3 separate regions of the Homo sapiens genome follow, and regions 2 and 3 are each linked to region 1. Evidence: promoter capture Hi-C in human tissues and cell types (Jung and others, 2019). All regions are on one chromosome and are shown on one strand. The core of a region is centred on a gene start or on the middle of the fragment in contact, and the rest is flanking DNA. Distances in the headings are between cores, read along the strand shown.

What was found. The method cuts DNA at HindIII sites, captures the fragments that hold promoters and counts their contacts. A contact is called where the count stands out against the background at its distance.
Region 2: a contact is called between the fragment with the promoter of FOXA2 here and the fragment with the promoter of THBD in region 1, in 3 of the 25 tissues and cell types used here (heart right ventricle, neural progenitor cells and thymus).
Region 3: a contact is called between a fragment that was not itself captured here and the fragment with the promoter of THBD in region 1, in 2 of the 25 tissues and cell types used here (neural progenitor cells and thymus).

The regions. Positions count from the first base shown.
Region 1 is chr20:23,048,346-23,051,597 of GRCh38, reverse strand. It overlaps THBD (thrombomodulin), which reads left to right and starts at 1,926. Exons shown (of 1, transcript NM_000361.3): 1 at 1,926-3,252. The coding sequence starts at 2,094. The HindIII fragment of the contact is 7,811 bases long and covers 1-3,252 here.
Region 2 is chr20:22,582,857-22,586,108 of GRCh38, reverse strand. FOXA2 (forkhead box A2) reads left to right here and starts at 1,537. Exons shown (of 2, transcript NM_021784.5): 1 at 1,537-1,917; 2 at 2,955-3,252. The coding sequence starts at 1,831. RefSeq lists enhancers at 752-1,507, 2,932-3,252. The HindIII fragment of the contact is 10,630 bases long and covers 1-3,252 here.
Region 3 is chr20:22,653,866-22,657,117 of GRCh38, reverse strand. No RefSeq gene overlaps it. Among named protein-coding and RNA genes, the nearest start is that of LINC01747, 30 kb to the left of the region's middle. The HindIII fragment of the contact is 5,260 bases long and covers 1-3,252 here.

The sequences.
Region 1 (3,252 bases), core at 677-3,176:
ACCCTCACCCCCATGGCGGCACCGCAGGCAGCCCTGCTTTTGCGTCCCGCGTAGGCAGGCTGTGCACCGGAGTCACGACCCCCTGATTCAGCCTAGGCAGCCACAGCTTGACTGCTCCCGCCGGACAAGCCCTACTGTGCTATCTGCCGCTCTTCCCTTCCTCTTCCCAGGGGGTCCGCGTCAGGGGAGGCGCAGCTGTGTGCATTCCGGGAGCTTCAGACCCCCGTGTCCAGCAGCTCCTTCGTTTCCTGGGTGCTGGGGCGGCCTTCCCAGCGAAGAGCTCAACTCAGCGGGACGTTTGGAGGCTCTCTGCCCCAAGGCGCTGGGGAGTGTGCGGCGGGACAGTCGTGCTTGCCTTTTTCACTTTCAGAGTGTCCACGCCCCACCCGTTTGGTCACTGCAGGTCAGTCCAGTCCAGCCCGGCCCACCCCACCGGTGCGTGTCTGTCGCACGTGGCAGACGCCATACTCTCTGTTCTTGTTTAAAGCCCAGGATCTACTGGGCCCTGGAGGCAAGAGGTGAACGCAGCGGAATCCACGCTGAGCTGCCCGGGAACGGAGCTTCCAACCCCAGAAGGAGGACTCTGTGCTCCTACACCTTAACCCTTTTTAGCCCGAAACTTCTCCAACTTCCTTGGCTTTGTTTAGAGCTCGACAGCGCCGCCCCCTGGCGCTCGTTGTGAGGACAGTAGAGGAGAGAGGCAAGGGTGTTTTTAAACAGTTTGCCTCTCACCATTATGGGGGCGACCCGAGGGGGAGACCCACTCTTCCGCATTCCCGGTAAGTGAACCACCGGAAGAGGTCGAAAGTGACGGATTCCCATGTCCTCCTCCAGCCCCCCCCCCACCCTGCCCATCCACAGGACGGTGGCTCTTCAGTGCCCTTTGCCGAGCAAGTGGCGTTTCTATGCACGTGGGTATCAATTCGGACTCTGGACGAAATGGAAACCTCCTTAGCCGACCCGGGTGGGATCAGCTGGGATCCTGCGCGCTCCCCTGGGGGGTTGCCAGCCACTCTGTTGGGGTGCAAGAAGCACCATCCTTCGGAAGCTGGGCCGAAACTGGCCAGGCTGACTCGCTCCCACGCGCCCGCCCCTACCCGGCGCCGCAGCAATTCACCTGCCACCGCCTCTGAGCCGGGTCCGGACTTCGGCGCCCTGACAGTGTCCCCGCGACTTCCCCACCCGATGAGATGGGGTCTGGCGTTGGCCAGTGCGTGTCCAGGGACTCGCGGGTCCCTGGCCAGCCATGGGGCAGAGGGCGCTGGTGTTAGGCCAGTCTTCCCCACCCTGCCCCGTCACCCCAGCCACACCCACTGTCCTGTGAGGCCAAGCGCGCTCCGCTGGTTTCCTGAGCCAGGCACCTTGGCCGCGGACAGGATCCAGCTGTCTCTCCTTGCGATCCTGTCTTCGGGGAAGTCCACGTCCTAGGCAGGTCCTCCCAAAGTGCCCTTGGTGCCGATCACCCCTCCCAGCGTCTTGCAGGTCCTGTGCACCACCTCCCCCACTCCCCATTCAAAGCCCTCTTCTCTGAAGTCTCCGGTTCCCAGAGCTCTTGCAATCCAGGCTTTCCTTGGAAGTGGCTGTAACATGTATGAAAAGAAAGAAAGGAGGACCAAGAGATGAAAGAGGGCTGCACGCGTGGGGGCCCGAGTGGTGGGCGGGGACAGTCGTCTTGTTACAGGGGTGCTGGCCTTCCCTGGCGCCTGCCCCTGTCGGCCCCGCCCGAGAACCTCCCTGCGCCAGGGCAGGGTTTACTCATCCCGGCGAGGTGATCCCATGCGCGAGGGCGGGCGCAAGGGCGGCCAGAGAACCCAGCAATCCGAGTATGCGGCATCAGCCCTTCCCACCAGGCACTTCCTTCCTTTTCCCGAACGTCCAGGGAGGGAGGGCCGGGCACTTATAAACTCGAGCCCTGGCCGATCCGCATGTCAGAGGCTGCCTCGCAGGGGCTGCGCGCAGCGGCAAGAAGTGTCTGGGCTGGGACGGACAGGAGAGGCTGTCGCCATCGGCGTCCTGTGCCCCTCTGCTCCGGCACGGCCCTGTCGCAGTGCCCGCGCTTTCCCCGGCGCCTGCACGCGGCGCGCCTGGGTAACATGCTTGGGGTCCTGGTCCTTGGCGCGCTGGCCCTGGCCGGCCTGGGGTTCCCCGCACCCGCAGAGCCGCAGCCGGGTGGCAGCCAGTGCGTCGAGCACGACTGCTTCGCGCTCTACCCGGGCCCCGCGACCTTCCTCAATGCCAGTCAGATCTGCGACGGACTGCGGGGCCACCTAATGACAGTGCGCTCCTCGGTGGCTGCCGATGTCATTTCCTTGCTACTGAACGGCGACGGCGGCGTTGGCCGCCGGCGCCTCTGGATCGGCCTGCAGCTGCCACCCGGCTGCGGCGACCCCAAGCGCCTCGGGCCCCTGCGCGGCTTCCAGTGGGTTACGGGAGACAACAACACCAGCTATAGCAGGTGGGCACGGCTCGACCTCAATGGGGCTCCCCTCTGCGGCCCGTTGTGCGTCGCTGTCTCCGCTGCTGAGGCCACTGTGCCCAGCGAGCCGATCTGGGAGGAGCAGCAGTGCGAAGTGAAGGCCGATGGCTTCCTCTGCGAGTTCCACTTCCCAGCCACCTGCAGGCCACTGGCTGTGGAGCCCGGCGCCGCGGCTGCCGCCGTCTCGATCACCTACGGCACCCCGTTCGCGGCCCGCGGAGCGGACTTCCAGGCGCTGCCGGTGGGCAGCTCCGCCGCGGTGGCTCCCCTCGGCTTACAGCTAATGTGCACCGCGCCGCCCGGAGCGGTCCAGGGGCACTGGGCCAGGGAGGCGCCGGGCGCTTGGGACTGCAGCGTGGAGAACGGCGGCTGCGAGCACGCGTGCAATGCGATCCCTGGGGCTCCCCGCTGCCAGTGCCCAGCCGGCGCCGCCCTGCAGGCAGACGGGCGCTCCTGCACCGCATCCGCGACGCAGTCCTGCAACGACCTCTGCGAGCACTTCTGCGTTCCCAACCCCGACCAGCCGGGCTCCTACTCGTGCATGTGCGAGACCGGCTACCGGCTGGCGGCCGACCAACACCGGTGCGAGGACGTGGATGACTGCATACTGGAGCCCAGTCCGTGTCCGCAGCGCTGTGTCAACACACAGGGTGGCTTCGAGTGCCACTGCTACCCTAACTACGACCTGGTGGACGGCGAGTGTGTGGAGCCCGTGGACCCGTGCTTCAGAGCCAACTGCGAGTACCAGTGCCAGCCCCTGAACCAAACTAGCTACC
Region 2 (3,252 bases), core at 288-2,787, 470 kb after region 1:
CTTCTGTGTCCCAAACCGTGCAGACCTGAGAGTCCTGGGGTTAGGGAAGTGGTTCCCCTGTGCCTACTGCTACCTCCTCGCTTGCCTTCCAGCCTCACCCTTACTCAAGCTTCAATGCGAAGCTCCGTGTCTGCCATCTCGCCTGTCTTCTGCCACCATCGCCCCCAATTTTGGACAGGTGGGCTGGATGCCCACTAGTTCCTATGCATTCTCTGTGTCTGAGGGGGTGGGTACAGGGCTGGATCCCCAAGGTCCAGCCAGGTTTTCAGAACCAAGAAAGAGCCTCCACATCCAAACACCTGCAATATCCCCCCACTCCAAATCTGGGCTCACAGGCTAACCCAGAACAGAAGACAATTTTTGAACCCAAGAGCTGCTGGGGAAATAAAAGTATACGATTGCTGGAGTTTCTAATTTCTATTAAGCAGTCCCTCTGGAAGACAGAGAGGACAGAGACGCTCTTGAAGTCAACTCCATATGCCCCATCATTGATTCCTGGATTCTTCTCTCCTCACCCCTCCCTCCCCACCTCCTGCCCTGTTTGTTTTAGTTACGAAATGCTGTGGGCACCTCGGTTGTGACTGAAAAGTAACCTTGAAACACGCCGGCCTGAATATCAGAGACAAATCTCAGCCTCCCAACCGTCGGCCGCTGCTAGAGGGGCTGCTTGCGCCAGGCGCCGGCCGCCCCACTGCGGGTCCCTGGCGGCCGGTGTCTGAGGAGTCGGAGAGCCGAGGCGGCCAGACCGTGCGCCCCGCGCTTCTCCCGAGGCCGTTCCGGGTCTGAACTGTAACAGGGAGGGGCCTCGCAGGAGCAGCAGCGGGCGAGTTAAAGGTGTGTACGTAGTTTTTCTAAATAGGACAGCGCTTTGCAAATTGGCTGTCATGGACTTGCTGTTTTGACAGAGAATGAGCACTGAGAGCGAAGAAACCCGGCATAAATAAATCCGGCTTTCATAGGGATCTGCCGGGCACTGAGGCTGGACGCGCCCTCCGACAGGCGCACCGGGCGCCCGGCGCGATGAGACGGGGCGGGGGCTGGAGGCCGGAGCCGCCCCAGAGGGTGGTTTCCTCCCAGGTCCCTCCTTCCTCAGGGGACTCGCTGTGGACCCGGGAGGAAAGGGGGCTCGACCAGGGATCCCGCGTGCCCGATCGCCCGCCCAGCCCGCTCCCCTGGCCCGCCCAGGAGTGCGGGGCGCCGCGGCGGTGGGGCGGACGGCAGGCGCTGAGGGGCAGGTGCGGAGCGCCGGCTGCGGCTACCTCTCACCTAGGTGTGAGCTGATTATTCAAATGGGCTGCCCCGGGTCTGGGGATTGGAGGCCCGCGCCAGCGCGCCGCGCTATATCACCAGCCTCCCACGTCACTGCGGCACTTGTCCGCTCCGCGGTCCACACCTCCTCCTCCTCCTCCTCCTCCTCCTCCTCCTCCTCCTCCTCCACCACCACCACCGCCTCCTCCTCCTCCTTCCTCCTCCTCCTCCCCACCCCCCCACTAGCCCCCGCGCCGCGCGCTTCCCGCCGCCTCGGGGCAGCTCGGCACTGCCAACCTCAGCCGCCACCCGGCAGCCCGTGAGCGCGGCGGCGGCGGGTGCTCCCTACCGCGGGGCGCTGGCCTGGGCCTCCTCCGCTCCTCGCCCCCCCCCACCTCCCGCCCACTTCCAACTACCGCCTCCGGCCTGCCCAGGGAGAGAGAGGGAGTGGAGCCCAGGGAGAGGGAGCGCGAGAGAGGGAGGGAGGAGGGGACGGTGCTTTGGCTGACTTTTTTTTAAAAGAGGGTGGGGGTGGGGGGTGATTGCTGGTCGTTTGTTGTGGCTGTTAAATTTTAAACTGCCATGCACTCGGCTTCCAGTATGCTGGGAGCGGTGAAGATGGAAGGGCACGAGCCGTCCGACTGGAGCAGCTACTATGCAGAGCCCGAGGTAAGCGCTCGTCTTTTCCAGGGGGAAGTGGAGCGGCGGCGCTCGCTCCTTCCCCAACCTCAGGACCGCTTCCCTCGCTGGCACCCCCCCACCCCGCCCCACAACCCCAGCCTTTCTGGGCAGCCGCCTTTTCCGCCCTCCTTGGAATCAAATGGGTCTCTTTTTTATACGACACACTGTTAGCCTTGAGATAATATTAACTTTGTGATCAAATATTGACTTGCGGCGCCTCCAAATCCTCTTCGTGGCCGAGCCACGCACTATCCTAACAGAGTTATGTTTGGCAGCGCGCGGCTGGGGAGGGGTGGGAGGTCGGCCGGCGAGGGGGTGGGGAGCTGAGGAGGAGAAGATGGGTAGGAGTTGGGGGCTGAAGTGGAGGCAGAGTCAAAGACTAGTGGACAAAGAGAAAGAAAGTTTTTGCCTGCAAAGCTCAGCCGCGTGTGGTTCAGGTCTCGGTTCTTTCCCTATTGCCCCGTTCAGTGCCTCCAGCCGCCCCCGCACTCCGCACAGGCACTGCCTTGCAGTTTCCCTGGGACAAGGGAGGGGGTCCCTGGAGGGAGACCGGACAGAGGGGGCCCGGGACAGTCTTCGCTGGAGGCAGCCCGAGGCGCCCCGCGCGTTGTCCCGCAGGTTGCTTGCTGCGACCGGAGGTGGCGTCCGGGGACTTCGGGCCTCGGCGCCAGCTCAGTATGCTGGTGGGAGAGTTTGGGGAGACTCTGGGGTAGGGGAATGTATTTGGGGTGCTGGCTTGGGAGTACTCCATGGGACCCCTGTTCTAGAATCTGGGCGAGGTGGAGAAGGGCTAGGAACGGGCCACATGCCCAAGCAGCAATCCGCTCGCCACCTTCCCAAGGGCGATCGATCATGACTCTCCCTGAATGAAACAGACTCGGAGTCCGGAGACTGGGCCATCGGGGACGAAAGGGCTCCCCGGAGGCCTCCCCGGACGCGGAGGCCTGGGCGGTGGGTGGGAGGTCTGGGCACCCTCCAGCCGCGGTGCTAACGCTGTCGCCTCCCTCCCGGGGCTCTGTCCGCAGGGCTACTCCTCCGTGAGCAACATGAACGCCGGCCTGGGGATGAACGGCATGAACACGTACATGAGCATGTCGGCGGCCGCCATGGGCAGCGGCTCGGGCAACATGAGCGCGGGCTCCATGAACATGTCGTCGTACGTGGGCGCTGGCATGAGCCCGTCCCTGGCGGGGATGTCCCCCGGCGCGGGCGCCATGGCGGGCATGGGCGGCTCGGCCGGGGCGGCCGGCGTGGCGGGCATGGGGCCGCACTTGAGTCCCAGCCTGAGCCCGCTCGGGGGGCAGGCGGCCGGGGCCATGGGCG
Region 3 (3,252 bases), core at 247-2,746, 390 kb after region 1:
CATCCACAGACGAATGGATAAAGAAAATGTGGTATATGTACACAGTGGAATACTATTCAGCCATAAAAAGAATGAAATCCTGTCTTTTGCAGCAACATAAAGGATCCTGGAGAACATTATGCTAAGTGAAGTAAGCCAGGCATAGACAGACACATACTGCATGTTCTCACTTAAATGTGGAAACTAAAAATTGAGCTCATAGATGTAAAGAGAAAACCAGACTTATGAACTATGGCAAGGACCCTTCCCCACCTCTCTTCACAGGTGTAGGGGACATTGCTCCCAAAGGAGATCTGGGTTTCCTCTCACCTAGTGGATGACAATATTGGCTGCCCATTAGAATCATGGGGAGGGGAGAGCTTCTTGAAAACCCATGTGTCAGCTCCAACCTTCATCAGTCTCTAAAGAAAATAATAATTTTTTAGAAAAAGAAATCTACAGTGTCAGGTCTTTAAAAAAAAAAACAAAAAACAGTCTGTTAACACCAATGTTCACAGAAGGATTACTCACAATACCCAAAAGATGAAAGCAACTCAAGTGTTTATCAATCAATGGATGAATGGATATGCAAATGTAGTTATCTCCACACAATGGAATATTATACAGCCTCAAAAAGGAGGGAAGTTCTCACATGTTACAATACGGATGAACATTGAGAACATTAGACTAAGTGATGTAAGCCAGTCACAAAAGAACAAATACTGTATGATCCAACTTACTTGAGGTATACCTAGAGTAGTCAAATTCATAGAGACAGAGAGTAGAAGGGTGGGTGCTAGACATAGTGGGAGGGGAAGTGAGGAGTTGTTGTCTAATGGTTACAGAGTTTTGGTTTTGCGAGATGAAAAAGTTCTAGAAATGAATGGTGGTGCTGGTTGCATAACAATGTGAACGTACTTGATGTCACTGAACTGTACATTTAAAATTGTTACGATAGTAAATTTTATTATGTATTTTAACATACAACAAAAAAGATGATGCTTCTTGTGCAGGCCTGTCTCTTCCTGTTTTTCTGTTTTACCAGCTGATCCAAAAACATCAACATTTATTTACATGGAAGGATATCTGATCATTCTGAAGAATAAGGGTTAGAACCCAGGGATTCAGATAAGAACTTTAATATAAATTATAAAACTCCATTTAGCTTACTTATGGTTATAGGTATAAGAAACTGAAAGGAATTATGATAATATTAAAACTATTTAGTTGGTTTAAAGAGAAATTTACTCCTTTATGTGTTAATAAAATTATAATTTAAATGCTTAAATAATTTAAACGTGTAAAAATACACAAGTATTTGGATAATACAGGGAAAGTGCCCTGACTCGCCATCTATATCCAAAACAATATCGAAACACAGCTGAGCCACAGCCTCCTGCAGTCAAACTGACATTTACTAGAGTTGCGTTTTTCAAGGCAACTCGAGGTAGAAGAAAATCCAGTGACCCACTCAAAAAATTCTTTCATCTACCTCATCGTAGGCAGCACATGAAAACACCTGGGAAGAATGGAAGGGTGCAGAGAGGTGACCCATTTGCATAAAATAAACTTCAGCTGACAAAATACAGGTAATCAAACAGGAAAATGCAAATTGCTCATTAACTTCTCAGAGTCAATGAACCTGGCCATGAAGATTCAACCCACCAAGGAGAATCTATCTGCAGCTCCCCAGGTGGCCTCAAAACCACCATAGTAGTCACCGTCTTCCTTTTGGAGGACACAGGAGGGAGAAAGTAGCAGAAACCTTTCGACCTAAACTCCTTCGCGCGTGGATGGGCACACTAGGGCAACTGGGCCCACGCGGGCCTCCAAAGGGAGGGTGTTCCCAGAGCTGGGGACAACAACACTTTCTAAAAATGTTCAGAAGAACCAGAGACACGGCATTCGTGTGTTTCAGTGCAAGCTGTATGTGTATGAGTGTGTAAGGGAGTGTGTGAGTCCATCAGTGAGAACGTGTGTGAGGGCCTGTATGTAAAGAAATGTGCTTACAAACGTCTATGTGGGTGTGGGGATGTGTATGAGGTAGTGTGAGACTGTATGTGCATGTGTGATAGTTTATGTGGGAGTGCGTGTTGGTCTCTGAGGTGAGCATGCATGTGCAGTGCTGATGAGTGTGTGTGCATGTGAGTGTGCATGAGTGAGAGTGTGTATATGCTTGAGCATCTCCGTGTATTGAACACGTTTATACTTGTCTGTTTTTAGATTTGTATGCAAGTGTGTGTGAATGTATGTCTATGAATGTGTGTGAGTTTGTGTGAATATCTGTGTGAGTGCACATGTTGTATATGTATGTATATGTGTGTGCATATCGGTGTGCATATATGTGCATGTGTGTGCATGTATGAATGTATATATATCTGTGTTTGGAAATGTATATATGTGTAAATGTATGTGTATATCTCTGAGTGAATGTGGACGTGTGTGAATTTGTGTGTGTGTCTATATGTGTGAATGTGTACACATATCTGCATGTGTCTAGATGTGTGCACGTGTGTGCATGTGTGACTGTGTATATCTCTGTGTTTGCACATGTATATATGTTTGTGTTAATTTGTGTGTATATTTGTATGTGATCATGTGCATGTGCGCAGATGTGTATATACCTCTGTGTGTATGTTTGTGAGTGTGTGTCTATCTGTGTGCATGTGTGTATATCTGTGTGTGAGCATGTGCGTGTGTGTGGATTTGTGTATTTATGTGTGTATGGGTGTGTGTGGATGTGTGTCTATCTGTGTGTATATCTGTGCATGAGCATGTGCATGTGTGTGGATTTGTGTATCTACGCGTGTATAGGTGTGTGGATGTGTGCCTGTGTGCATGTGTATTTGTGTGTGAGCATGTGCGTGTGTGTAGGTTTGTATGCATCTGTGCGTGTAAAGGTATGTGTGGCTGTGTGTCCGTCTGTGTGCATGTGTGCATATCTGTGTGCAAGGCTGATCTGTATGAGCATGTACACATGCATATCCCCACCAGGCTGTCTCTCAGGCTCCCCAGCAGCAAGGAGAATGTGAGTCTGCCGCTGCTTCTGTGCCTGTGTGTCTCATCCATCATAGACGCATGTAAGACCCTTTTGTCCCCCTTTCTTTCCAATTTGAAAGCGACTCTTGAAGTGTAACGAGGTTTGTTTAAAGACTGTCCCTCTCCTTAGGTGAGCCCTGTTTGTCCTTGTGAACAGCAGGCCGTGAACAAGATGTACAGCCCTCGGCTTTAAAATAGCTGTGCACATTTTCCTCCGCCCGCGAGACACAGTTC